Linked DNA regions of Homo sapiens: regions 1, 3 and 4 are each linked to region 2. Evidence: promoter capture Hi-C in 16 types of primary human blood cells and fetal thymus (Javierre and others, 2016). All regions are on one chromosome and are shown on one strand. The core of a region is centred on a gene start or on the middle of the fragment in contact, and the rest is flanking DNA. Distances in the headings are between cores, read along the strand shown.

Region 1 (7,515 bases), core at 4,809-7,308, 1.1 Mb before region 2:
GAATGTGTCAAGCACTGGGCCAAGCACCAAGGGATTCAGGAAGCTGAGCTCTATTAGGTAACAGAGACAATTAGTTACAGTCACTACGCTTGGAGGCCATTTTAAACAGCAAAATCACCAACAGAAAGAACAAATAATCATTGCACTAAATAAATCATGAAAAACACCTGCTTACAGTATGAGCCAAAATAGAGTATCGCCTGGTTTCACCTCAATGGGAAACGTCTGTCCTGAGACTCAAACTTTTTCACCACTCCTCACACATGCACAAATGACTGCAAAACCAGTGTGACTTTTGGGGTACAAGTAAATTTCAGAGTAGACAAATTCAAAAAATACAGAATCTACAAACAACAGGCTCAACTGTACATGTAACAAATGGTAAAGCAAAAATATTGAAACCAGGCATGGTGGTGCACACCTGTAGTCCCAGCTACTCAAGAGGCTGAGGCAGGAGGGATTACTTGAGCCCAGGAGTTTAAGGCTATGATCACGCCCGTGAATAGCCACTGCACTCCAGCCTGGGCAACATGGCAAGACTCCATCTCAAAACAAAAAAATTAAACCTTATTACCCAGAAAAAATATAGATTACAATAAGAAGGTGCCAATTTCACCTGTTAAAAATGTAACGAGGGCAATAACACTATCAAATCAATACTATCACTGGCGGTATAAAACGGTACGACCTGCAAAATAGCAATTTGTCAATTCTCTTCAATAGTGTTTAAAATATCCACTAATTTATCTTCTAGAATTAGCCTAAGAAAATCATTCAAAATACATAAAATGCTAAACTAATGAAAAATTTCAGTACAACACTATTTCTGACAAGACATATACGTATATACACACACTCTACCATGACAACTTAAAACGTTAAAGGAAAAACAGAGGAAATCAATAAATATTAACACATTAGCAATAAGTCTATAATTTTTTCACTTTCTAAAAAGAAAAATATATTACTTGCTCAATTAAAAATATATACAAATAAATACATGGCTCCTCCTTTAAAAAAAAAGTACTCTGGAATAAATGGACCTAAGAGGGCTGGGCAAGGTGACTCACACCTGTAATCCCAGCACTCTGGGAGGCTGAGGTGAGAGGATCACTTGAGCTCAGGAGTTCGAGACTAGCCTGGGCAACGCAGCAAGACCCTGCCTCTACAAAAAAAATGTTTTAATTGGCCAGGCGTGGTGGCGTGCACTCGTAGTCCCAGCTACTGGAGAGGCTAAGGTGGGAGGATGGCTTGAACCTGGGATGTTGAGGCTGCAACAAGCCAAGATCGCACCACTGCACTCCAGCCTGGGTGACAGAGCCAGACTCTGCCTCAAAAAAAAAGGAAAAAGAAAAAAGAAAAAAAAAATTATACTAAGTGAAATAAACCAAATATAAAAGGGCGAATATTCTATGATTCTATTTATCTGAGGTACCTAGAATATGCAAATTAATAGAAAGCAGTAGAATAGAGGTTACCAGAGGATGGGGTGGCGGAACAGGGTGCTCTTGGGTACAGAGTTTCAGTTTAGGATGATGAAAAGGTTCTGGAGATGGGCAGGGGCGACGCTGCACAAAAATGTGAATGCTGTGCTCTATGCCACTGAATTCTACACTTTAAAACGGTTAACGTGGGCCGGGCGCGGTGGCTCACGCCCGTAATCCTAGCACTTTGGGAGGCCGAGGTGGGCGGATCACGAGGTCAGGAGATAGAGACCATCCTGGCTAACATGGTGAAACCCTGTCTCTACTAAAAAATACAAAAAATTAGCCGGGCGTGGTGGCGGGCGCCTGTAGTCCCAGCTACTTGGGAGGCTGAGGCAGGAGAATGGCGTGAACCCGGGAGGCGGAGCTTGCAGTGAGCCAAGATTGCGCCACCCCACTCCAGCCTGGGTGACAGAGCAAGACTCCGTCTCAAAAAAAAAAAAAAAAAAAAAAAAAAAACGGTTAACGTAGTTTATTACAACAAAAATAAACTTGTTTTAAAAAAGAAACTACATCTTTTAAAAATTGCAACACTATTTATAAAAAGTTTATCTTTGAGAGATCACTGGTATCAAACTCGAATGTGAAAAAGGATAAACTATCCTTCAGATTTCCAGTTACTCTGGAGTTGTCGAGAACCAAATAATCCGCACTCCAGCTTTCATTCATCCTGCAACACATCTGGGAGGTTCCTAAATCTCATGTAGCATCCCCACATTAGAAATTCTGCTTGTAGGCCGGGCGCGGTGGCTCACGCCTGTAATCCCAGCACTTTGGGAGGCCGAGGCGCCGAGGCGGGTGGATCACGAGGTCAGGAGTTCGAGACCAGCCTGGCCCACATGGTGAAACTCTGTCTCTACTAAAAAATACAAAAAAAAAAAAAGATTAGCCGGGGGTGGTGGCGTGCACCTGTAATCCCTGCTACTTGGGAGGCTGGGGCAGGATAATCGCCTGAAAGCGGGAGGCGGACGTTGCAGTGAGCCGAGATCGTGCCATTGCACTCCAGCCTGGGTGACAGAGTGAGACTCGGTCTCAAAAAAAAAAAAAAAAAAAGAAAAGAAATTCTGCTTGTCGGAAGTGTCTACAGACGTTTACGGGAACTTCAAGAAACAAACCCTCCGATTCCTGGGCAGCAAGCAGGGAAATCATTGGATGTAAATGGTTTGTATTTTTCTTCCTCGGCGTAACAAAGTGAGCTTCTGCTCTGAACCCACGGAGAAAACCATGTGCCCTGGTGAGAGAACACCGGCGGGGCACAGAACTCGACGCAGCGCCAGCCAGGCAAAGTCTCCCACCAGGTCCCACTGCAGGTCGTCGGGTGAACAGCGCGGGCAAGACCCACGACGCCGAGGCTGACGGTGGGATGCCCCTGGGTTCCCGCCCGCAGCCCCGGCAGCGCGGCCTGGGAGAGGGCCCGGCGTACCCTGCGGGCGGGAGCGCGCACGTGGCACCAGCTGCGCAGGCGCACGGGAGGGCGGCCCGCGAGGCCGCCGTGACCCCACAATACGCGGGCGGGGAGGGCTTCCGCTCAGTCCAGCCAGGGCTCGCCCGCCACCCCACAGCTTCCAGCGGCGTCACTGAACCAAGACACAGCCCCGTTCCCCGCGCCGCCCACCCACTCCCCTTCCTTCCTTCCGGGGTCGGCCCCGCCCGCAAGCGCCGCGCGCACCTTAACGCTCTGATCGCTGGAGCAGGTTGCCATCCGCCGCCCGTGGAAGTCGAAAGAGACATCGTGGATGAGATCCTTGTGGTCCGCCGCGATGCTGCGAGCCACAAACATGGTTTCCGTCGGGCCCGCGCCTCCGAAGAGGACAGTGGCGGCGGCAGCGGCGGCGGCGCGTGGCCCGTAGCCTAGCCAGACCTCGCAGCCCGGGAGCGCACGGCTTGTGCTGCCCACGCCCCCGCACCGCCCCTGCCTATCAAGCCCCGCCCACACACCCTCCGGTCCTTCAAGCCCCGCCCCACCCACCGGCCCGTCAGGCCCCACACAGTCCCCTGGCCCCTCAAGCCCTGCCCACGCCCCGGCCCGTCATGACTCGCCCCACCTTCCGGTCCCTCAAGCCCCGCCCCGCCCCCAGGCCCGTCAAGCCCCGCCTACCCTCCCACCAGAGCCGTCATGCCTCGCCCCACCCTCCCGCCCCCTCAAGCCCCGCCCTGTTCCCGGCTCGTCAATCCTCGTCCCGCCCCCGGCCCGTCATGCCCTACGATCCTGGTGCGGGTTCCTCCAGGCTCTGACCGTTCGGCGGCGGAGGGTGCTCTGCAAAAGGCGAGTTACCTGTGCTGAGAAGTAGTAAGAGCTTATTGGTATACTGTGCAAATGAAGAAAGATGAAAAAGTGAAGACTGCCTCTCACGGTCCTCGGCCCTGAATCATTTAAGTCGACGTTTGGATGTGTTTCCCCCCAGACACATGCGAGGCGCGCGGAGCAGGTGGAGAAGACGAACCGTGGGTTTGGTCAGGAGCCGCGCTCCGTCGGGACGGCTGAAGAGCAGGGAGGGCCGGGGAGACGCCTGAGGGGATGACAAGCAGTCCAGGCTCGGCAGCCTAAGAGCGAAGGCTGGACGGGGAGGAAAGGATCAGAAGTAGTAGTTTAAATGTGTCAAGATTTTACAGGTAGAACAGGCCTGGGGGTGCTAGGAGCCACCACGGGGGTAGGGAAATAGTATGAATTAGAAGAGTCCGCCTGTAGAAACGTGTCATCCCGGGGGAAGGAAGCGGCCGGGGAAGTGGGCTGCTTGCTACCCGGGAGCCAGAGTCCTCCGGGGAAAAGGAAGTGAAGAGGGCCAGAGCCCCTGGGAAGAGGCCTGGCTCAGATCAAGGATTCTGCCAAAACCGGAAAGTGGAGGAGCCAACGACTCGGGGGGTTTTGCTTATCAGGAAAAGGCATTCTAGAGGGCGTAGTGGTAAAGTTAGGATGGGAGACAGTGGAAGCTTGCGTCAGGGGAGCGAAAGTACAGAAAAAAAAAAAATGAGGCTGCAGAAGGGACTTGCCCTTTGGATTTTGGCCAGGAATGACAAAAATGTGAGGTATGGTAAAATTAGCAGGCTGGAAAGTTTTTTAAATGATTAGTCCCAGCTGTCCCCTGATGGATTGCACAGAAACCTGCAAAGAGAAGTGGCGCAATGACCTGACCTTTTTCAACCATAAATAAGATTTTATTGCTACTTTAAGAGGTGGGCCCCACCTCTTATGATAACTGATAACAACTATAACTTTTTTGAAGGTCAAAGACACTCATTTCCAAAGAAAGTGCTCACTATAAAAGTCCAATCAAAATATATTGATTATTATAAAAATATCAAAACAGTTTAAAAATTGTTTTAATTAAATTTAAATACAGACAGTAAACAGATCATTGGTTGCCAGAGATTATCAGAGTGGGAGTGAAGTGTTGAATTAGGTGAAACAGTGGATTTTTTAAAATAGACTTTAGTTTTTAGAACACTTTCAGGTTCACAGCAAAATTGAGCAGAAAATAGAGTTCCCGTATGTACCCCTACTGTCACACATGCACAGCATCCTCCACTGTCAACATCCCATACCAAAGTGGTACCTTTGTTATGATCAGTGAACCTACATTGACACATCATTATCACCCAAAATTCAGAGTTTGCATTAGGGTTCACTCTTGGTGTTTTATTCTGTGGGTTTTGGCAAATATATAATGACATGGATCCACCATTATAGTATCACGCGGAATAGTTTGACTGCCCTGAAAATCCTTAGTGCTCCTGTTCATCCCTTTCTTCCGACAACACCTGGCAACCGCTGATCTTTCCACTGACTGCATGGTTTTGACTTTTCCAGAATGGCATATAATGGGAATCTTGGAGTGGCTAGCCTTTTCAGATTGGCTTCTTTCCTTATAGTAATATGCATTTAAGCTTTCTCCATGTCTTGTCTTGAGAGTTCATTTCTTTTTAGTGCTGAATAATATTCCATTGTCAGGCTGTAACAGTGTTTATTCATTCCCCAACTAAAGGGCATTCTGGTTGTTTCTGTGTTTGGGCAATTATCAATAAAGCTCCTACAAACATCTGTGTACAGGTTTTTGTGTGGACATGTTCGCAACTCCTTTGGGTAGATACCAAGAAGCATGATTGCTGGATCATATTGTAAGAGTAAGTTTAGTTTTGTTTTTTGGGGTTTTGTTTTGTTTTTTGAGACAGGGTCTCACTCTGTCATGGCAGACAATCGTGGCTCACTGCAGCTTTAAATTCCCTGGGTTCAGATGATCCTCCCACCTCAGCCTCCCGAGCAGCTGGGACTACAGGCACAGTGCCACCACACCCAGCTAATTTTTCTGTTTTTTGCAGAGATGGGGTTTCACCATGTTGAGCAGGCTGGTCTCAAACTCTTGGGCTCAAGCGATCCTCTTGCCTTGGCCTCCCAAAGTGCTTGGATTACAGGCATGAGCCACTGTGCCTGGCCTGGTTTTATAAGAAACTTACAAACTGTCTTCCAAAGTGGTCGTGTCAGCCAGGCCTGGTGGCTAAATTACCCTGTAATCCAGCACTTTGGGAGGCCGAGACGGGCAGATTATCTGAGCTCAGGAGTTCAAGACCAGCCTGGGCAACGTGGCGAGACCCGCTTCTCTACTAAAAATACAAAATAAAAATACAAAAAAATGCCCCAGGAGTGGTGGTGGAACCGAGATTGTGCCACAGGACTCCATCCTGGGCAACGCAGGGAGACACTATCTCAAAAAAAAAAAAAAAAGAGAGAGAGAATTTAACACAGGAAACTGGTTACATATATATCCAAGGGGTTAATTAAGAGCAAAAAGGGAACATGTGAGATTACCCAGAGACTAGTAACTACGGGAAACTCTGGGCTGGGAGCGTGAAAGGGAAAATAGTTTTACCCAGTGCTACCATCATTGACTCTGAGGCTGCTGACATTGGCACCTTTACCACCAGCAGGCAGAAAGCCAGGAGCCAATACTCCAGCTTACACTGCAGGCGTCCAACAGAGTAACAGCCATGGGAGCCCACAAGCTCTGAACAGCTGAGGTTCCTGGAGCCTCTGCTAGTACTGCTGGAGCTAGGGCTGAGTGCTGCTGCTACTGCTGCTGTTCACATCACCCCCGAGCAGGAAGCCAGGCTCACCCATTGCCACCACCACCACTACTCAGCTATGTGAGCTGCCTCCACAAATTGGAGAAAAGGTCTTCTTCCTCCTGCATCTGAATCCCCTACTGTCTCTCAATTCAGAACCTAACTAGAAATAGAGAGCTAATAAGAGTCTGGAAAAACAAGCTTGGAGGTTTCCAGTTCATATTCTGGAAAGAATACGACCTACAGTGAAGGCTGGGCGTGGCAGCTCACACCTGTAATCCCAACATTTTGGGAGGCTGAGGCGGGCAGATCACTTGAGGTCAGGAGTTCAAGACCAGCCTGGCCAACATGGTGAAACCCCGTTTCTACTAAAAATACAAAAATTAGCTGGGCGTGTTGGTGAGCGCCTGTAATCTCAGCTACTCAGGAGGCTGAGGCAGGAGAATCGCTCTAACCCTGGAGGCAGAGGTTGCAGTAAGCTGAGATTGCACCGCTGCACTCCAGCCTGGGCAACAGAGCGAGACTCCATCTCAAAAATATAAATAAATAAATAACCTACAATGAGTTAAGAAGCTTTCACATTTTTTTTCCTGCTCTGCGCCAGTTTAAATAGCATAGGAACTGAAAGATTCCTATGAAGATTTTGTAGAAGATTCCGTGAAGATTTTGTAGATGACGTTCACAAAATTTTATCAGCCTCATGCCTTGGGTGATGATAGGTATAGTTAATTTTAACTACCTTTTAAAATTATTTTATTCATGGCCTCTTCAGATTTTTTACCTTTTGTCAAGACAATTTTGATCATTTATATCTTCCTTTAAAAAATCAGCCATTTTGTGCTGGGCATGGTGGCTCATGCCTGTAATCTCAGCACTTTGTGAGGCCGAAGTAGAAGCATTGCTTGAGCTCAGGAGTTCAAGACCAGCCTGGGCAACATAGTGAGCCCTCGTCTCTACAGAAAACAAATTAGCC
Region 2 (7,086 bases), core at 2,741-5,240:
AATATAACTAGTAGTTAAATGGAAGATTAACTAGTTAACTAGTTCCCTGATGTGTTTCAGTTGGATACTTTTGTAAATTATATCCATCTTTGGTGTAGGGAAGTTTCAATGTGAAAAAAAATCTTGTAGTTATGAAGAAACAATTACAGTGAAGAAGCCAGGGGACCGGGCGCGGTGGCTCACGCCTGTAATCCCAGCACTTTGGGAGGCCGAGGCAGGCGGATCACTTGAGGGTCAGGAGTCCGAGACAAGCCTGGCCAACATGGTGAAACCCCGACTCTACTAAAACAACAACAACAACAACAAAAACAAAAATTAGCCAGGTGTGTTGGTGCGCATCTGTAGTCCCAGCTACTCAGGGGGCTGAGGCAGGAGGATCGCTAGAACCTGGGAGGTGGAGGCAGCAGTGAGCCGAGATCGTGGTGGCACTTCAGCCTGGGCGACAGTGAGACTCCGTCTCAAAACAGCAACAACAAAAATAAGCCAGGGATCCTAGAAATATGCAAGAAAAAGCCATACTAACCAAACAAAAATTTAAGTGCTAAGACTGAGGGTGAATTTGGAAAAATATCATGCTTTCTGACCCAAATCTACCTCAGAATTTTTTTTTTTCCTTTTTTTGAGACTGAGTTTCATCCTTGTTGCGCAGGCTAGAGTGCAATGGCGCAATCTTGGCTCACCTCAACCTCCGCCTCCCAGGTTCAAGCAATTCTCCTGCCTCAGCCTCCTGAGTAGCTGAGATTACAGGTGTGCAGCACCACGCCCAGCTAATTTCATATTTTTAGTAGAGGCGGGGTTTCTCCATGTTGGTCAGGCTAGTCTCAAACTCCTGACCTCAGGTGATCTGCCCACCTCAGCCTCCCAAAGTGCTGGGATTACAGGCGTGAGCCACTGTGCCCCGCAATTCTTTTTTCTTAAGTGTTTTTTAAAACAGGATGCACACTCACATCCAATAACATGCAGTTTAAAATGATTTAATTGACAAATTCTTGTGATTTACATTTCAGTAATCAACTGCAAAAGTGAGGAAGTAATTCATGGGCCTGTAGTGCTTTTGAAAATAATATTTATGACTCATAAAAATGTACATTCATAATAGTATGACATGGACATATTTTAAGAAAGTTCAAGCATATACAAGCATTGTTTAATCTCACAAAATATATTAATTTTGTTGGGAATATGTGCATTATAAAAGGGTCTTTAGTTTACCAAAGGGTTCAACACTAAGCTATTTTTAAAGTTGTAATTATTTTTTCCAATCTAAAGAGGGGTTAAGGCCAGGTGCAGTGGCTCATGCCTGTAATCCCAGCACTTTGGGAGGCTGAGGTGGGCGGATCACCTGAGGTCAGGAGTTCAAGACCAGCCTGGCCAACATAGTGAAACCCTGTCTCTACTAAAAATACAAAAAAACTAGCTGGGCATGGTGGTGCACACCTGTAATTCCAGCTACTCGGCAGGCTGAGGCAGGAGAATCACTTGAACCCGGGAGGTGGAGGTTGCAGTGAGCAGAGATCGCGCCACAGCACTCCAGCCTGGGCAACAGAGCGAGACTCTGTCTCAAAAATAAAATAAAAGAGGGGTTAAGACTCATGCTGTCTTCACACATGGCCCTGCACAACCATGTGGAGGACAGGAGGGATATTCTTGAGAGATGCTGGGCAGACAACTAACAAGTGTCCCTTAAAGCACACTTCTGAACAATGTCCAGTCAAATATAAAATAACTTAAATATGAGGGTCACTCCTCATCTGCACGCACCTGTTACACTTTTTTTTTCCTTACTCATTTACACTGGGAAACATGTTATAATAGTGAATAGTTGGTTATGAATCTTTCAAAGAACTTGGAAGGGCCCCTATAATTATTTTCTGAAACAATGGAATTCTCTTATGGAAAAATCTTCCAGTGAAGGAAAGGGTAAGTTAAAAAAAACTTGAATTAACTTAGGTTAGCATGCTTGCCAAGGCAAAAGCAAGTTGCTTTTCTCCATGTTTCGAGGCTATGAGAAAGCGGTGGATACATGCTTTACTTTTCAGCCAGAAAATACGCACTGCCATTCCTGAGAAGATGGCAGGCAGCACAGCTGGGCTCTAGCCTTAAAGACTCAAGCTTTCTCCTTCCTTCCAGTCCTACCTCTTTACTTCTCAGATTTCCAGCTGGCTGGATGTATACATAAATGACTTGCATGGCTAAGTAAAACATTCCAGCTTATATTTTCAAGGATTTCCAAGAGTTCTTGCTTTTGGACAAATTAATAAATGCAAATTAGAACTTAAAACGCAGTTCTAATTTTATTTCTATTTTTGGTTGTTAAAATCAAAACAAAACCTACACACACACAGTCCTAGGGTTTTCTCAAACGAAATCAACAGTTCTTTGGCAATGTTAAGAGTGTGTAACATGACTGCCATGCTAATTAGCATAATTTATAAGACTTCTAATAGTGTTGAAACAGGAAAATAACTATAAACTTGTTAGAGAAGTTCGTTTGAAAGACACTGTCAAATGTCACACTAAGTCTTTTTAAAAACTCAATTTAGTAAGTAGAAAATATAAATGAACAAATTTAATTTTTCCAGATAATAAAGGAAGTTATTCGGCATTTTTCCCAGTTACGCAAAGACAATTATCACGTGAAAAATTTATAGAATGTAAGCAGTAAGAGAGTATTATGCAAAAATATCCTAAGGTAATTTCAGTATAAATTATAGGACCACATTTATTAATAATATACGTTATGAGAACAATCATTTGCAGTCTCACTGTGAAGGCAAAAAAAAAAAAAACAAAAACCAAAACCCAAAGGATAAACAGAAATAGCACAGTCCACCGAATACACTGCATGGTGTTTATAACTGTATAACCAAACTAAGTAATCTTTCCCCTCTCTTTAACTTTTATGCACCACCTGCCATTCTAGATACTATCAATCACACTAAATAATAATAAAAACCAACCACCTTCAATCTGATCATTCTGGGCAGGAAACTGAATACAGTTTTGACCAGATCTTCGAGAAAGATTCATATACACGAAATTAACTAGTTCTGTTAAAAGGCTGCTATAAAAATACCATCATTACGAGCTATACAGAACTTTAGAATCCAGCTAAGAGTGCAGAAATACTGAATTTCTTAATTTATGTGGAGGGGGCTGTAAACCCAAAGGTAGAAGGGCATTTCAGCATTCTGGCGTGTTCAGAGTTTCTAGGGTATAGTATCTCTCTAACACACAGAGAGCATTTCAAAGGGTGGCTATGGCCAGGAAACCTCAGAGCGGGTTCTGCCGTCACACTTGATCCCGAAGGCGGGCCAGTCTCTGAGACAGTTCATCCTGCTCCGCCGAAGCCACGCTCGTGCCCACGGAGCCGGTCTGGCCCTGCGGCAGCTCCATGTTGAGGTCGAGGCCCGCCTCATCTGCCATTTCCTGGAGCAGCATATCCACTTGGTTCTGGGGAGTGGTGAGCGTCGTCGTGCTGCTCATCGTGTCTTCCATTTGCTGCGTCTGGACGTCCAGAGTCTCAAACTGGTGCTCGAATTTGTCCATCAAAGCAGAAATCTTCTCCAGATTCATGGTCTTCAATGTCGCATCCATCGACTTAACCACACCAGCCATCGACTTGGTCACCTTGCCCATCGTCACCGCCGTCTGGACCCTGGCAGCCACTGCATCGACTCGCGCACTCATTCTCAAGAAATTCACCGCCTGGTTCTTCTGGCGGATGGCATTTTCGGCGTGTATCCTCGCAACTTCCATGTTGCCCTTCTGAATGGCCTTTTTAATTTTGGCCTTTTCGGCCTTTTCCTCCTTATCGCATTTTTTGGCACTCCTACTCAGTTCTTTGGCCGCGAACTTCAGGTTGAACAGGTGTTTCTCCATGTTAGACATAGTCGGACGGCTCCTTTGGGTCGGCGGCCCGGCTGAGAAGCGCGCCGAAGGCAGAGAAGGTAAGGTAAGTCCGCTCCCGGCCGCCGCTCCTTTGTTTTGGTCCCACTTCCTGTTTCTACTGTGAGCGGCGCAGGTGGTGACGTCAGAGCCCAGCGCCAAAGGCGGAGCCTGCGGGACGGAAGGCGCCGGGGTGGGGCCTGTGGGACGTAAGACGCCAGGGGCTGCGCATGCAGGGGGATTCTGGCTGGACGCTCCGGCGCTGCGGCGGGGAACGCTCGCTTCCTGCGCTGCGTTCTACCCGGTTTTTAAAATTCTAACGCATTAGTCAATTCACAAAAATTAGTGCCCCCACGCACTTTCCTAGTAATAAATCTACCGAAGTAGACAGGATCTGTGGAGACCCGCGTGTAAAATTACCCACGCTCCAAACTTGGCAGGCTTTATAAAGGGTGACTGGCTAGCGGGCTAAAAACCAGCCAAACATCAGCTAGGTCTTCGCACTAACGCTTGCTTTATTAGCATGGGTAATTTCCACTTTCTCAGGGGAACTGGAAACCATGGATACATTAAAAACAAAAACATTAAAACACATTAAAAACAAACGGGTCATTGACGCGTCTCCATCTTTGACTACAATTTGTGCTAGAGTTCTGTAATATCCTTTTATTGCATTGAGTGAAAATAATCTTCAAAACTGTGGCACCACCAAATTTATACTTTGTCTGGAAGTTCAGCTTCTAGGTGAGTTGCCAGCAATTATCCAAAAATCGTCCCGTGGTTTAGTAATAAAAAGACCCATCTTTTGCTGACACCATTCTGTCTTTTTGATGTTTTATAAATATCCAAGGAACTTCACTCACATTTAAGTTTGACAGGCTAAACTGTCATTTTAAATTATGCAGGCAGAGTATGTTGAGATATCAGGACCCACACCCACGGGCATACATCAAAACTGTCACTATGTATTACGCCCTTTAAAAATGCTGGCTTTCAAATGGCAGCAATGTGTGCTGTCACTTTTCTCTTTAGAAAGATTCCTCCGATACAGCAATAACAATGTGAGAAGACCAAATCTGCCCTAATGAGGTAGGCTGAAAATGAACTCTGAGAGCGAATTCTGTTTAGAGATCATTTTAATCTAGCAGCCTGCCACCTCGCTTAGCTTCCTGTGATAGCTTGCCAGTCAGTTTCACAACACAAGACCTTCTGAAGACATAGCTCTGATGTTTTCACTCTCTTGCTCCAAACCCCGGGCATGGAGGCTAAACCTGCTGTGCAGCATGCTGGCTCGTCTTTCGCGCCCCTCCACCTCCGCCAGTCAAAGCAAACCGCAGCATGGAATTTGAGCATTATTTGCGTCATTCGGCCAGCGGGGAGAATGTGACTGACGCCCGGTCCTGTGGCTATGCTGTTCCTGTTGCCTGGATTTTAGTGTCCATGCATCTCTGCCTATTGACACCCTGCCAGTCCTTCAAAAGCCACCTTCACCATGGAGCCTCCCCAGGACTCCTCCTCTGTGTGGCCATACTACAGGGCACATTGCCTGGCAAGGGGTCTGTGTGTATAGGTCACCTGTTACAGTGTGAACTACTTGGATGCAGACACTGATTCCTTCCCCTCTCCATGGAGCCCAGCAGGCGCTCTGCACACAGCAGCCACTGAATCCAGATGGCGTTGCTGAATTTAATTGTATTTCAGAGGGGATAGGATGTTACCCTAGTTAGCAGCTTAGCTATGGTTCCTTTTTGCCCCGCAAAGCAGTAGAACCCTTTTTCCAAATGAAACTTTTCTAGAAATGGAATATAAACAACCAAAAAAAAGGGGAAGAAATCTGTTCAAAGTGGATATAGAGAGCTTAGGCCCCCTACTCTGCTCACCCTCCATTCCACTCTTCCCTTCTTTTAGGTCCTGGTTTTTCTTGGAGTTTGCAAACAAGTTTCTTATCCAGCTTCCATGTCATGCTCCATAGTTTTCTTTTTTCTTTTCTTTCTTTTTTTTTTTTTTTTTTTTGAGATGAAATCTTGCTTTGTCACTCAGGCTGGAGTGCAGTAGTGTGATCTTGGCTCACTGCAGCCTCCCCCTTCTGGGTTCACGCGATTCTCCTGCCTCAGTCTCCCGAGTAGCTGAGATTACAGGCACACGCCAGCACTACCGGCTAATTTTTGTATTTTCAGTACAGCTGGGGTTTCGCCATGTTGGTCAGGCTGGCCTCGAACTCCTGACCTCAGTTGATCTGCCCACCTTGGCATTCCAAAGTGCTGGGATTATAGGCGTGGGCCACCGTGCCCAGCCCATAGTTTTCTTAATGACAAATTCTGACTAGGTGAGATGGTTTGGAATATAATCATGAGAGACTCCGATAGATGATGATGATAATGACAACTAACATTAATAAAGTACTTATGCACCAGACATTGTTCTGGGCACTTTACATAAATTAACTCATTTCAGCTTCGCAAACCCTATGAAGTAGATACTATAAATGTCTCCAGTTCACAGGTAATGAAAAGGAAGCACAGAGAGCTAAGAAACTTGCCTGAACCCACACATTAGGTAAGTGTTAGAAACCGGATTCCATGGATGTATTGGGACCAGTAATAAGGCAATGGGGAATCCAATGAACATGAATTAATAAGAATAAAATAATGATCATCATGTAGCCTAAAGAAAGAAGTTGACTTTCCAGCTGTTTTTTTGAGAAGACAGAGTTGCATTGACTGCAAAGTTAATATGAACTTTATAAAGTGTGGTTGTTGACTGGGCATGGTGGCTCAGGAATGTAATCCTAGCACTTTGGGGGGCTGAGGTGGGTGGATCGCTTGAGGCCAGGGGTTCAAGACCAGCCTGGCCAACATGGGGAAAGCCCGTCTCTACTAAAAATACAAAAATTAGCTGGGTGTGGTGGTGCATGCCTGTAATCCCAGCCACTTGGAAGGCTGAGACAGGAGAATCGCTTGAACTGGAAAGGTGGAGGTTGCAGTGAGCTGAGATCACGCCAGTGCACTACAGCCTGGGTGACAGAGAGAGACTCCTTCTCAAAAAAAAAAAAAGAAAAGAAAAAAAAAGAAAAAGTATGGTTGCTAAAAGAAGTTGCCATCACCTGAAGCTACATTCCTTGGATGATGACACCTCTACTTTCTGTGCTGGAGAGAAGGTATAGGTGGAGTTCCAGAAGCCATCTTCCCAGAGAGACCA
Region 3 (6,817 bases), core at 4,101-6,600, 1.9 Mb after region 2:
ACAGTACTCAGAAAACAAGACCAAGAGATTCTGGCCCTACAGGCTTTAAAAAGTAAAATTTTTTCACAGGAAAAACTAAACAGGAAACACTGTATGATTTAAAGGCACCCTATGTCTTTAAAGTATGACAGTCACTCCATGTCATATTATTCAAGAATTAAAATTATATACATATTCATATACACTTCACACATATACACACATACATGAAACATACAGCTACAAAAGAGCTGTCAAAACATAGGCCCATGAGAAATTTGTCAAGTTATACTATAAACATACGTTTAAAAGTCCTCTCATAGCAACAATTCTTTTTTAATTAACATCCCTACTTTTTAACGGTAATTCAATCTAATCATTTCCTTAAAATGCTAAAAGTTTAAAAGTCCTCTCATAGCAACAATTCTTTTTTAATTAACATCCCTACTTTTTAACGGTAATTCAATCTAATCATTTCCTTAAAAAGCTAAAAGATACGTAACTAAACTTCTCACTCCTTTAAATCTGAATTTTCAGAACAGTATCAAACATTAGTGATAACTAGTTATAAAGAACATCCAAACACCAGAGAAAAGCAGCTAAGCATGCTATGGTATATTAATGATGCATAAGTCAGCAAAAATGATACGGAGGTTTCTTTTATAAGCATTGAAGACACTAGTTTAGACTTTTTATAAAGTGAAATATGTGTTACAGAATAACAATTACAAAGTGAAATATGTATAACAGATTACAGAATTTATTTTTTATAAAGTGAAATGTTAAAGAATAATGTGTTACAAATATGGCTTCAGAAAATATCAAATTCAATCTCATTTAAGCAAAGAATATTTTATTATTAAAAAAACCCATACTGAAGAGTTCATCATAAAGATGTAAGCAATTCAATGGCACAGGAAATGAAGTATAACTGGCATCACAGGAAGAGGCTGTATTCAAGAGAAACTAATTCCTGGGATCAAAAGACCTCTCTGCCTACGTTTCTCTGCCTTTTTTCTCTCAATTAGTTGCTTCTGCTTGCCACTGGTCCAAATTAGCCACTGTTTTGTCTCCCAGTCCATATGACCTTGAAGGTCTGAAACCTATAACCATCTATTTATAGTTGTGTTTCAAGGTGAGCCATCAAAATTTTGACTGGTCAGTCACCAGCATATATATTGGCTGGCCTTGAATCTAGATTATAAACAGCCTCTTCCTGTGAGACCAGGTATACCTGATTTCCTATGCCATTGAGATTGCTCATTAATAAACTCTTAAGTGTGATTTTGTTCTTTGTAATAGACTAAATATTAGAGGATATCAAAGAATTACTGTTAATGTTATTACGTGTTAACAGTATCATGATTATGCAAAGAAAATGTCCTTTTTTGGTTATAAATGCAAACTCAAGTATCTAGGGATGAAATGTTATGCTATCATTCAGGATTTGTTTTAAAAATACTGAGGCAGGCCAGGTATGGTAGCTCATGCCTGTAATTCCAGCACTTTGGGAGGCTGAGGCAGGAGGATCGCTTGAGGCCAGGAGTTCAAGATCTGGCTGGGCAAAATAGCAAGACTGTCTCTACAAAAAATAAAACATATAATAATTAGCTGGGCACAGTGGCATGCACCTGTAGTCCTAGTTACTCAGAAGGATCGCTTGGGCCCTGGAGTTCAAGGCTGCAGTGAGCTATAACAGCACCACTGCACTTCAGTCTGGTGTCAGAGTGAGACCGCTGCAAAAAAATACAAACATGGAGGCAAACAAAAATATATAAATAAACACGTATGATTATAGTAAAATGTCAATTATTAAATTTATATTTAAATTTAATTTACTAAATTAACGCATACTGAGGTTCATATTATAAGGTGCTCATGTTTGAAAGTTTTCAAACGTTTAAAACTTACTAATTTAAAACTAATTTGAGTCACATTTCAGTTATAAAATGAATTAAACCAGTAAACAAGCATTTGCAAGTTAACAGTCCTCTCGCACATTTAATTTTTTTCCAAAACTAACTTTATGATCAAAAGAGAGCAAGATCCATCCTGTATCAACTTCCACCTCTGAAAGGCAAATAAGATTTCACTAAATGGTCAGTAAAGGTAAGATAAAAAGAAACTATGTTGAGATGATGCATATGTCAATTTGCTTCACTATAGTAACCATTTTACTATCTATATGTATCCCATAACATCATGTTATATGTATACCTCAAATATACACAATGAAATCTTTTTAAAGGATTAAAAGTATAGTTTTCCCTATTCTTTATATGCATTTTTCTGCTTCACAGAAAAATAGCATTTTCTTTTTGTACTCAATTGTCATATATTCACACAAACTTTTAAAGACAGAACACCCAAGAAATCACCTAGTCCTAACCTCTTACTTTACAAATGAAAAAAACACAAACATCAAACAACCTACCTTTAGGGTTAGTCAGCTCTTTACAAAATAGCCTACCACCCCTTTTCTGGAAGTACAAAATTTTGAAAGCACTATTACCTGCAAAAGCAGGTGAAAACTCCAACTGAGTCAAGATCCAAGACCAAAAAATAAAAATTACTGGAGAAATCATCTGAGTCTTATTAATTCAATCAACACTTACTGGGCAATCATTTTATGATGCCAGAACTTGTTACTACAAACATTAACAGGTATATACTCAGAGTTCATAGTATAGTTTGGGAGGGGAGAATATGTAAGCCTAACTACTATCTAATGTGAAAGTACTGTTATTACAGGTAAGCACAAGCTTCAACAGTGGCATGAAGGCTCTGACCAACTTGGACTGGTAGAGTATCAACGACTTCTCAAGAGGAAGTGATTCTTGAAATAAGAGGCTGCCTGACAGACGTGAGGGAGGACAATATTCTAAGCAGAGCCTGTGCAAAGCATTGCAGTGGCCTGGAGTGTTTGGGAAAATGGTTTCATATAGCCAAAGTTATGGACAGAAGAAAAAGAATAGACACTGAGGCTGGAGAGTTAGGCAGTGGATTTTGGATTTTTCAAGTACATAGTAAGAAAACATTTAGAGTTCTTCAATCAAGGGACTAACAGTAACAGCCTCCTTTTTCCAAAGCGTAGTTCCAGCAGCAGTGTGGAGGACAGGGTAAAGAGCTGACAATAAAGGAGGCTGGGCACAGTGGCTCACGCCTGTCATCCCAACACTTTGGGAGGCAGAGGCAGGTGGATCACTTGAGGTCAGGGAGACCAGCCTGGCCCACAGGGCAAAACCCCGTCTCTACTAAAAATACAAAAATTAGCCAGGCATGGTGGTGCACGCCTGTAATCCCAGCTACTTGGGAGGCTGAGGCAGGAGCATCGCTTGAACTCGGGAGGCAGAGGTTGCAGTGAGCCGAGATAGCGCCACTGCACACCACCATGGGTGACAAAGCGAGACTCCATCTCAAGAAAAAAATGAAAGAAAGAAAGAAAAGAAAAGGAGATGTCTGCTGACTAGTAAATATAAAAGGACCTGAAGTAAGGAAATTATCCAAAGCCCAGACCTTTTCTTAAGTAACACACCCATTTAACCAAATCCACCTTCATGTTAATATCCTGAAAGACCTAAACATATCTACCATACGTCCTCCTCCTCCATCTCTCTCACACACCCCCAAATAAGATGCATTTCGTCCTCATCCAGACATCCACCGTTTCTCAAATAGCACCACCATTTCCCCAGTTATATAAGCAGAAATCTCAGACATTCATACCCTTTTCTCTCAGTGCACATAGAGACCACCAAGTCTCACAGATTCAACCTAACTTTTCATCACCTCCAATACCATGACCTCAGTCCAAGGGGTCACCACTTGCCAGTACTGCTGCAGCCGCCTAATTCATCTCTTTCTCCCCTCTAGTATAATTTTACATTGCTACCAGAATTATTTTTAAATGCAAATGTGATGTTATTCGATTCCCTCCATCTTTACTGCTCCTCCCCTCACTTAAAAACCCTAGTGGCTCAGGATAAAAACAAAACTCCTAACTTGACCTACTAAACCAGCACTACATTCATCTTGACTATTTTCACCACTGCCACGCCGACCTCTTTCAGTATGGTAAATGTTTCACAGTCCCTCCTGCTACCGGATATTTGAACATGCATTTTCCTTTCTTCTTCACCAGGATAACTTTTACTCATTGTTGGAATCTTAGTTCAACTGTGACAGCCTGATCGAAGACCCTTATTTTACATTCTCGTAGCACTATATAGCTCTTCAGGGGTACACTTTATTCTTCTGATTATTTTATTAGTATCTATCTCTCTTGTTAGAACTGCCCCATGAAAACATGGCTTGTGTTTCACTCACAACTGTAGTTCCAATATTTATTCATCATACCTGACATGTAGCAGATACTCAAATCTAATCAAATTAGATCCATAATTGAATGAATTTTAAAAATAAATGAATTTGGAAGTAGAAACACATTGAAGTGGACAAAGGGATTATGTCAAAAATAGAAACACAGATTTTAATTATTAGATATGCATATTGTTTCTGGTGTGAGTAATCATGATGCCACTAAAAAATAAAAATAAAGCCAAGTGCAATGGCTCAGGCCTGTAATCCCAGCACTTTAGGAGGCCAAGGCAGGAGGATCACGCAAGGTCAGGAGTTCGAGATCAGCCTGGGCAACACAGCGGCACCCCCATATGTACGTAAAAAATTAGCTGGGCATGGTAGCATGCACCTATAGTCCTAGCTATTCAGGAGGATCACTTGAGCCCAGGAGGTCACGGCTGCAGTGAGCCAAGAACGTGCATGCCACTGCACTCCAGGTTGAGCAACTGAGCAAGACCCCATCTCAAAAATAAAAATAAAAAATATGGGAAGAAGAGTAGGCATGGGTAGTAAAAATTTTGAGATATTTTGAGTTTAGAATATCATATCTGTGCAATATTCAAATCTAAATAGTGAATAAGTTGTTTGAGTATGTGCTCTTGACTGACGGTAAAATGTGAATTAAAACAGACTTGGGGGTGTAGCAATACCTGCAGAGAGCAAGGAAGATAAAGAGAAAACCTCAAAACAATGAAATGAACAAAGAAAGTTCACAGAGTGAGATAAATGAAACCAAATCAGAATCTCAGAAACATGAGCATTTGAGGAAAATGCCACAAATAAGACAATAAATGGAGCAAATAAGAAAATTAGAAGACAATGCTGTTATAGAAGCCAGAAGAATTGAGGGTTTTTTTTAGAGAAACTGTCGGTACTGTCAAGAGCCAGGGGGAGGTCAAGTAAGATAAAAACTGGAAATGATTAAGTTAGCAATAAGTAGTGAGAGGATAAAAGTACCGTGGACTAAGGAGAGAATAAAAGGTGAGTAACTGGAAAAACAGTGAATATGGACTATTTTTCCAAAAAGTCTGAATGCAAAGGAAATGAAGGACAGGGAGAGACACATACTAGAAAGAGTTATGGTCAAAGAAGTACATGTCTGCTCATTTGTTTTTAAAATCAAAGACTCTGGTGTATTTATATGTTAAAACAATGCAGCCAGTGATTGAAAACCAGCAGGAAAACATCTCATGGAACATGGTCTGAGTCATAAGGAATTTTACCTTAGCCAGCAAAAATAGAGGAACAAAGAACCTTGGGTATGAGCAGGGTTTTTCTTTCTCAGGGAAGAAAGTATGGATGTGTACAGACTAACAGGTGTTACAAGAGGAAGGCACATCATGGAAGAGATGGTATGTCTTACTGAAAAAAAAAAATCTGACTTTTATTCTGTGAGCAATTGAGAGTTACCTAAAAACTAAGGAATGGAGTAATATATGATTAAAGATTACATTCATGTCTTTAGAGCCCCAGGCGTTTTGTATAGCCACTGGGAAACATGAAGAGCCGACTGGAAACACCTAAAAATGTGCTAAATATCCATCCAGAGGAGTATTCTCTAATTTCCCCCCCGCCCCGTGCTGCTTCTATGCAGATGCACTAGCTGATGTTAACACCATACGTCCCTCGATCCCTCAGAGAGCTTAATTTTCTTTGTTGATTTATTGTTATCGGCCACTCTCAACATAAGGATTTTGGTTTATTTTCGTCTCTCTCTGATCATTAAGAATATATTTGAAATTTATTTTAGCATTTTATAAACTTTCTTCTTCAAACTTTTCTACAAAACTGCTAATAGGGGTCAGGTGCGGTGGCTCACGCCTGTAATCCCAGCACTTTGGGAGGCCAAGGCAGGCGGATCACCTGAGGTCAGAAGTTCGAGGCCAGCCTGGCAAAATCCCGTCTCTACAAAAAATTCAAAATTAGCTGGGCATGGTAGTGCATGCCTGTAGTTCCAGCTACTCTGGAGACTGAGGCAGGAGAATTGCTTGAACCCGGGAGGCAGAGACTGCAATGAGCCGAGATCGAGCCACTGCAACAGAGCAAGACTCCGTCTCAAAAAATAAAAAAATTTAAAAAAACTGCTAATAGGTAGAAAAATAAAATGTGTAATACATTATAAATGGAATTTTATCATGTAAAAAATTTTAAAGACAAAAAAAATCTTTCACATAAAATACCAAGTTTCAAATCTGAAATCTAGGTAAAATTACTTCCAAGGTTTAAACAGAATTTGAAGTAAAGCAGCGTCTACTTCTTTTTCTTTACTAACACAAGTGATCTACTTCAGAATTCATTACATCGTAAATGCACTTTTATATGTTAACGACTGTATAAAACAAACTTTTTTTTAAATACTGAGGTATACAGAAAAATGTACTGAAATAGTTGGTGTCTGCTTTTGCAAAATTGTGCAACATACTGTTAATTCATCTTCAAGATGCTTGTTAGGTGTATAAAAGAAAAACCATCCAATCTC
Region 4 (6,798 bases), core at 305-2,804, 1.9 Mb before region 2:
TTCCCTCATTATTGCCTGAGTAATCTCTGGTTTTCTGGACATTAAAATAATAATAGCTAATACTCGAGTACCTTTTAGGTGCCAAGGTTAGTGCTTTATTCATTTGCACTCGTTTAATTCTAACCGAACCCAGTGGTATAGTTATGAGTGTTTGTTTTACAGATGAGGGTTAAGTAACTTGGCCAAGATCATGCAGCTTGTTAAGTAGTGGGATCAAGATTTGGACCCAGGCAGTCTGGCTGATTGACCAGACTCTGCTAATAATGAAACAGTGCTGGCTAGAAGATCATACTCAGAACTGGACGTTGCCTAGCAAATAGTAGATTTTTCAGAAAGTGTTTTGATACTTCTTAATGCCTGGGTTATGATGTCCCGAGAGAAAATAGTTAGATAAGGATGTTATCTTGCTGGAATGTGAGCTCCACCAAGACAAGGAAAGGACCTGCAGGATTTATTTCAACCCATTTGTAAGAAAGTGAGAGTACTTCTCTCAGAGGTATAATTTTAAAGTGTGATTTCTGTTGTAGAGTTGAAGATCATATTTTTGAAACATAGAGATTGTTTTAAAAATGTAGAAACAATGTTATAGTTTCCTAAGATAGTGTTCTGTGAAGAGAGGTGGTTCATGGAAGCTTTGTTCCTCCAAATAGTTTTGGATGAAGGACTTTTCCTCTGTTCCACTCAGGAAAGTGTTCCTACTGAAATTTCATTGTCTTTCTGGAACAAATAAAATATTATTGTTTAAAAGGTTTTTCCTTCAGTTGAAAATAAGATTTTGTTGAGTAATACTGTGTGTGATGATTAGTTTTATTATGTCAGCTTAGCTAGGCTATAATACCTAGTTATTTAATCAGATACTAGTTTGGTTGATGCTATGATGGTATTCTGAAGACGTGGTTAACATCTATAATCAGTTGACCTAAACTAAAGGATATTACCCTAAATAATGTGGGTGGACCTCATTCAATCAATTGAAGGCTAAAAAAGCCAAAACTGAAGTGTCCTGAAGAAGACAGTATTTTCCTCAAGACTGCAGCATCAATTCCTGCCTAAGTTTCCTGTCTGTAGATCTACCCTACACATTTTGAAGTTGCTATCCCCTACAGTTGTGTGAGCCAGTTCCTTAAAATACCAATATCTCTGTATCTGTCTATATGTAGATGAAGATATTTATGTTTTTATCTACATCTATATATTTTTTCCTATCAGTTCTGTATCTCTGTAGAGCCCTGACTGATTCAAATTTGGGTGCTGAGAGTGCTTCTAGTGAGCAGAATCTTAAGGATGAGTTTTCTGAATTGATTATAGTGTTTCTGGAATTGGTTTTCCAAACTGATCAGATTCAAAGGCAGTAATGAGTATTCCCTGTAGAAAAGAGGGCACTGATAGTCCCTGGTGTGATATGGCAACAAAGATATGCAAAAGATCACTATTAGATACTCCCACTCATGCTTATAGACAAGATTCAGAATGATCAGGTATTTGATACCTTAGAACATTTTAATCGAATTAATGAGTACAATAAGATAGGCTGGTTGCTTTTAACTGTACTGGGTAAAGTGAGAAAAGAAAAGGATGATCCCAGCTACTCAGGAGGCTGAGGCAGGAGAATCGCTTGAACCCAGGAGGCGGAGGTTGCAGTGAGCCGAGATTGCACCACTGCACTCCAACCTGAGTGACAGAGTGAGACTGTCTCAAAAAAAAAAAAAAGAAAGGAAAGAAAAGGGGAGCTTAAGGCTTCAAATTCCCGATTGAAGCTCCACATAAGTGACCTGAAAAGTTTCTGTGTCTGCCCTAAAGAAACCCGTATCTCTTGTAGCTACAGAGCTGAGGTTGGTGAAAACCAAATCCAGAGTCTTATCCTGTAGGTGGCTGAATTACAGTGCTAACTGAATTCCCTTCTCACCTTGGTCTGCTATTAAAATGAGGGCATTGATTGGGAAGGAATGGGATCTGCACATTTGGAATAGGGCCATATGGGAACATCCTGATGAAGCTGGGGATGTTAAACTCCTAAATTTGACTCACTCTTTTTTGCCAGTAGAAGCAGTTCTTCCACCTCTGAGGAGGTTAACTCTGCTTTGCCTGAAGAACCTGTAATGACCTCCCTTGAGGTAGTTACCTTGCAAGACATTGCCGGTTTTCCTCAGGAATCCGTGAAGAGCTCTGGGGTTGCTTTTCTCTTCAGGTCAGAGATTGCAGTGGGAGCTGTTGCCACTGACTGGGGGTCCTTAGCTGCAGCAGGGATGGTTGGATCTAGGATGGCAGGGGCTATGTGATCACCAAAGAGTAAGTAGGTGTGTTGCCATCATGGGGGACAGCGGAGTCAAAGCAACAATCTGAACAGCCTGACTTGGGGGTCCTAATTGGGTAGGTGGTCATGGTGTCCCTAGAAGAGAACTCGTTGGGCAGTCTACTGAATTCTGACTTGATCTCTATAAGCAGAAGAGTTCTAGGTCAAGTGAATGGAAGCTTTACTTTAATTACCAAAGAAAGAGTCATGGTCCCTCAATCAGTTCCCAGATTTGAGTCATTTTACAGACTCAGAACCCCCTGACTGAGGGGAGGCTGGATCCTTTTGAGGAAGGACCCCATTGCGCTGCTAAGAATTTATACCGTTAATTTTTTTCTCAGGTTTCCCAAAGGGACCTATGGCTTATCAGGGTAAGTGTGCACTGGAGAAGAGGAAATAATTAGACTTCTCACAGATTACTGAACTCTTAAGTCTGAACTGACACTAATTCCAGGACACTCAAAGTGTCATTTTGGCCCGCCATTCAGAGTAGGGACTTGTTGAGGTTAGGTGGTCAATGGAAGTTTAACCCAGGTTCTCCTCACAGTGGGTCCCCATATTCATCCTATGGTTACTTTGCCAGTTCCAGGATGCATAACTGGTATAGACATACTCAGCAACTGGCAGAATCCCCACACTGGTTCCCCGACTTGTGGAGTGAGGGCGATCGTGGTAGGAAAGGCCAAGTAGAAGCCACTAGAGCTGCCTCTTCCTGGAATAATAGTAAGCCAAAAGCAATACCGCATTCCAGGAGGAATTGCAGAGATGAGTGCACTTAAGGATGCAGGGGTGATGATTCCTGACATATTCGCATTCAACCCTCCTGTTTGGCCTGTGCAGAAAACAGATTGATCTTGGAAAATGACAGTGGATTATCATAAACTTAACTGAGTAGTGACTAATTGCAGCTGCTGTTCCAGATGTCATTTCATTACTTGAGAACCTATCCCCTAGTAACTGGCATGCAGTTATTGATCTGCTGAGTGCTTTGTCTTAGTATCTGTTAGTAAAGATCACCAAAAGCAGTTTTCTTTCAACTAACAAAGCCAAAAATACACCTTCACTGTCCTACCTCGGGAATGTCAACTTTCCAACACTATGTCATAACAAGATCTCTGTGATCTTGTTATGAGTTGAATTGTGTCTTCTAAAAATTTATGTATTGGATTCCTAGCCCTTAGTACCTCAGGGTATGACCTTATTTGGGAATAGGGTAGTTAAAAATGTAATTAGATAAGATGAGGTCATACTGGAGTAGGCTGGGCCCCTAATCCAACACAACTGGTGTCCTTATAAACAGGAGGAATTTGAACACAGACATTCACACAGGGAGAATGCCATATGAAACTGAAGTAGAGGAACACCAAGAAATGTCACACATTTCCAGCAAACCATCAGGAGCAAGGGGGTAGGCATGAAACAGATTCTTCTTCACCCCCTTTGAAGGAACAAACCCTACTGACACCTTGATCTTGGACTTCTAACCCCAGAGCTGGAGACAGTACATTTCTGTTTTGTAAGCTCCTCAGTTTGTGGTTCTCTATTACAGCAGCTGTAGCAAACAAATAGAGACCCTGATTGTGCTTCCCTTCCACAAAACATCATACTGGCCCATCACATTGATGACATTATGCTGATTGGACCTGGTGGGCAAGAAGAAACAACTACTCTAGACTTACTGGTATGACATTTGCATGTCAGAGGGTGGGAAATCCAACAAATATTCAGGGGCCTTCCACCTGTGAAATTTCTAGGGGTCCACTGGAGTAGTGTAGGGCATGTTCCCACCTATAACAAAAAGAGAAGCAAGGTTTAGTGGGCCTCTTTGGATTTTGGAGATGACAAATTCCTCATTTGGGTGTGCTACTTCAGGTTGTTTACTGAGTGACCTAAAATACTGCTAGTTTTGAGTGGATCCCAGAACAAAAGGCGCCTCTACAACAGGTACAGGCTGCTGTGCAAACTGCTCTGCCACTCAGGCCATATGACCCAGCAGATCTTCTGGTGCTTGAAATGTCAGTGGCAGATTGAAATGCTGTTAGGAACCTTTTGCAGGCCCTATAGGAGATACAGTGTAGAACCTTAGGATTTTGGAGCAAAGCCTTTCCATCCTTTGCAGGTAACTGCTCTTTTAAGAAACAGCTTTTGGGCTTGCTACTGGGCTTAATAGAAACTCTACGCTTAACCGTGGGCCACCAAGTTATGCAACCTGACTAGAAAAATGACTAGAATATTTCAGCAGTTAAGAGCACAAGCAGATGGCATGTGTTCAAATCCTGGTTATGTTATATTTACTAAGCATGTCATCCTTGAGTAAGTGGCCAAACTTTGTGTTTTGATTTCCTCATGGAGCGATTTTATAGAATAAATGAGATGATACAGTGCTTAGCACAGAACCTGCTAATTTTTAGCTTCTCTTAACACAACTGAAACTGCTACTGCAATGTCTTGTGAAGTCATTAGTCCATGCCTTTAAATGTGATTGTAGAATTTTTTTGCCTTGGTACAGCAGAAAAAATAGAGTGATTTTTTTTTTTTTTAATTCATGTAAACCAGAGCAGAAGTTTGAAATAGTGAACAGTCTTGTAGGCATTATGTGCTTTCAGGTTCTGAGTTTATTACTTCTGAGAATTAACCATAGTAGCAGTGGTCTATGACCTCTGTGGGTGAAAGGGTGGCTGGGCTTTAAGCATGTGCAGCAGTGGGCAAAGAATGGAGGTGAGGGAAGAGGCATCAGACATTAGGAAGGGATCCTCCCGGAGAAGTGGAGGTGGGTGGTTAGATTTTGTGGGTGCCAATGGCAAGATGAGTCCTATTAGAAAGTCTCATTGATAAGAAAAAATTGTTTTCAAGGCAGACTTAAAAATTAGGGCTTCCCCATTTTTACTTACTTCTTCTACATTGCCTTTGTAACTTCTTGGACGTGATAAATTGAATTAAACGTGGTATTTTATTTGGATTTCTTGATTTTTAATGTAAGCATGAATTATAGTAACTCTTCCTTGCTATCTGAAATACTGCAATTCTTGTTCTAGTTAAGCTGCATTGTAATTTGACTCATTTCTTAAAATTAGAGGAATTAGATAAACAGTGATGGGTTTGCAATGTAGTGTTTGCCAAATGAATGTCATATATAATGTTAAGAAAAATTTTATTTGTGTGGCACACTTTATAAAATAAAGCAGACCTATGTCAAGTTCTAAATGCAAATTTTTATTTTACTTTTCTTGCCATCTTCATCACTGTAAATGCAAGTTTTTAAAAAGATATTTTAAAATTGGACCCAGAATACAAGAGCTCTTTATTGCAACAATGGCTTCTGGTACTCTGATGATCAAATGACATTTTCTGAAATATGCTTGATACAGTAAACACTGACAAAACTAGTTAACCCCACAGAGAAGGTTACTAGTATTTTTCACCAAAGCCAAGCTGAAACAGGTTCTATTGCGATTTACTTGGTGTAAAATATATGTATAATTTCTCATATGTCTTTTTTTGGTTTAACAAACATAGTCCTTATTCATCAAGTAAATTCCTATTGCTAAGCATGTTTTAGTTAACTAGTAACAATAAATTTATGTTAAAACTGATTTTCATGATAGAAGATAGAAATGAAATTTATATAGTTTGGCTCTCAATCCTTTATTTTCAGGGAAAAGACACAATTTATACATATGAGCAATTTGTGAAGATGTGGGAAATTCACTAGATTAGCAGTTCTTTTTTCTTTTTTTTTTGGCCTTTAATCAGCTATGTGATCAGGAACAAGTTATGAACTATTACATGTCCTTGCATTCTTTATCTGTAAACATAAAGGATGATACTAAGGGGCCTCTCAGTTTCCTTCCAACTCTTAACATTCTGTAGTTCTAATGCAGACAACTATGACTAAACCTAAGGTTGCTGCTTTTATACAGTTGTACTCAGGTTCTGTGTGGCCTTCCATTTTTGTAGTCCCTGTAACAAAGACTTTGAGAAGGTAAAAATAATCCTTACTCATGCAGTGGGAAGGTTTCTTAAGGAGAGTAGGCTTGTATTTTCTGTTGCTGTGTAACAAATTACCCCCACATTTAGCAACTTAAAACAACACAGGTTTATTGTCTCACAGTTTTTCTGGGTCAGGAGTATGGGCACATCTTAGCTGGTTTGCTGCTTAGCATCTCAAAGTGTCAAGCAGGCTGCATTCTCATCTGGAGGTTCAACTGTGGAAGAATCTGTTTGCAAACTCATTGAGGTTGTAGGCAGAGTTCATCTTTTGTGCCTATATGAGTGAGGGCGCTGTCTTCTTCCTGTTGACTGGTGGCTTCCCTCAGGGACTAGAGGCTGTTCCCCGTATGCGGCCCTGTCCGTAGGCAGTTCATCATACGGTACCTTGTTTCCTTGAGGCCAGCAGAAAACTCTGTCTCCAGTCTGCTAAGATGAAGTCCTTTCCATCTTTTCTACCATTTAGTCTACTATACCATAAGTCTTTTCTCGAGCCTGTTAGACTGCTTTTTAAACCT

Evidence for each region. The method cuts DNA at HindIII sites, captures the fragments that hold promoters and counts their contacts. A CHiCAGO score of 5 or more calls a contact.
Region 1: a contact is called between a fragment that was not itself captured here and the fragment with the promoter of CHMP1B in region 2, in 1 of 17 cell types (non-activated CD4 T cells). The highest score is 5.2, in non-activated CD4 T cells.
Region 3: a contact is called between a fragment that was not itself captured here and the fragment with the promoter of CHMP1B in region 2, in 2 of 17 cell types (non-activated CD4 T cells and naive CD4 T cells). The highest score is 6.6, in non-activated CD4 T cells.
Region 4: a fragment that was not itself captured here is called in contact with the fragment with the promoter of CHMP1B in region 2 in 1 of 17 cell types (naive CD4 T cells); the score reaches 5.4 in naive CD4 T cells.

The regions. Positions count from the first base shown.
Region 1 is chr18:12,943,871-12,951,385 of GRCh38, reverse strand. It overlaps SEH1L (SEH1 like nucleoporin), which reads right to left and starts at 3,375. Exons shown (of 9, transcript NM_001013437.2): 1 at 3,154-3,375. The coding sequence starts at 3,264. RefSeq lists an enhancer at 2,195-2,796 and silencers at 2,728-2,827, 2,838-3,187, 3,228-3,677. The HindIII fragment of the contact is 1,374 bases long and covers 5,372-6,745 here.
Region 2 is chr18:11,848,317-11,855,402 of GRCh38, reverse strand. CHMP1B (charged multivesicular body protein 1B) reads right to left here and starts at 3,990. Exons shown (of 1, transcript NM_020412.5): 1 at 959-3,990. The coding sequence starts at 3,891. The coding sequence ends at 3,292. All of the region lies in intron 5 of GNAL (G protein subunit alpha L), which reads right to left. RefSeq lists a silencer at 3,279-3,573 and enhancers at 3,580-3,629, 3,898-4,137. The HindIII fragment of the contact is 8,099 bases long and covers 2,115-7,086 here.
Region 3 is chr18:9,916,901-9,923,717 of GRCh38, reverse strand. The region is part of intron 1 of VAPA (VAMP associated protein A); the gene reads right to left. Among named protein-coding and RNA genes, the nearest start is that of VAPA, 6.3 kb to the right of the region's middle. The HindIII fragment of the contact is 5,213 bases long and covers 2,744-6,817 here.
Region 4 is chr18:13,717,762-13,724,559 of GRCh38, reverse strand. The region is part of intron 1 of FAM210A (family with sequence similarity 210 member A); the gene reads left to right. Among named protein-coding and RNA genes, the nearest start is that of FAM210A, 5.4 kb to the left of the region's middle. The HindIII fragment of the contact is 1,840 bases long and covers 635-2,474 here.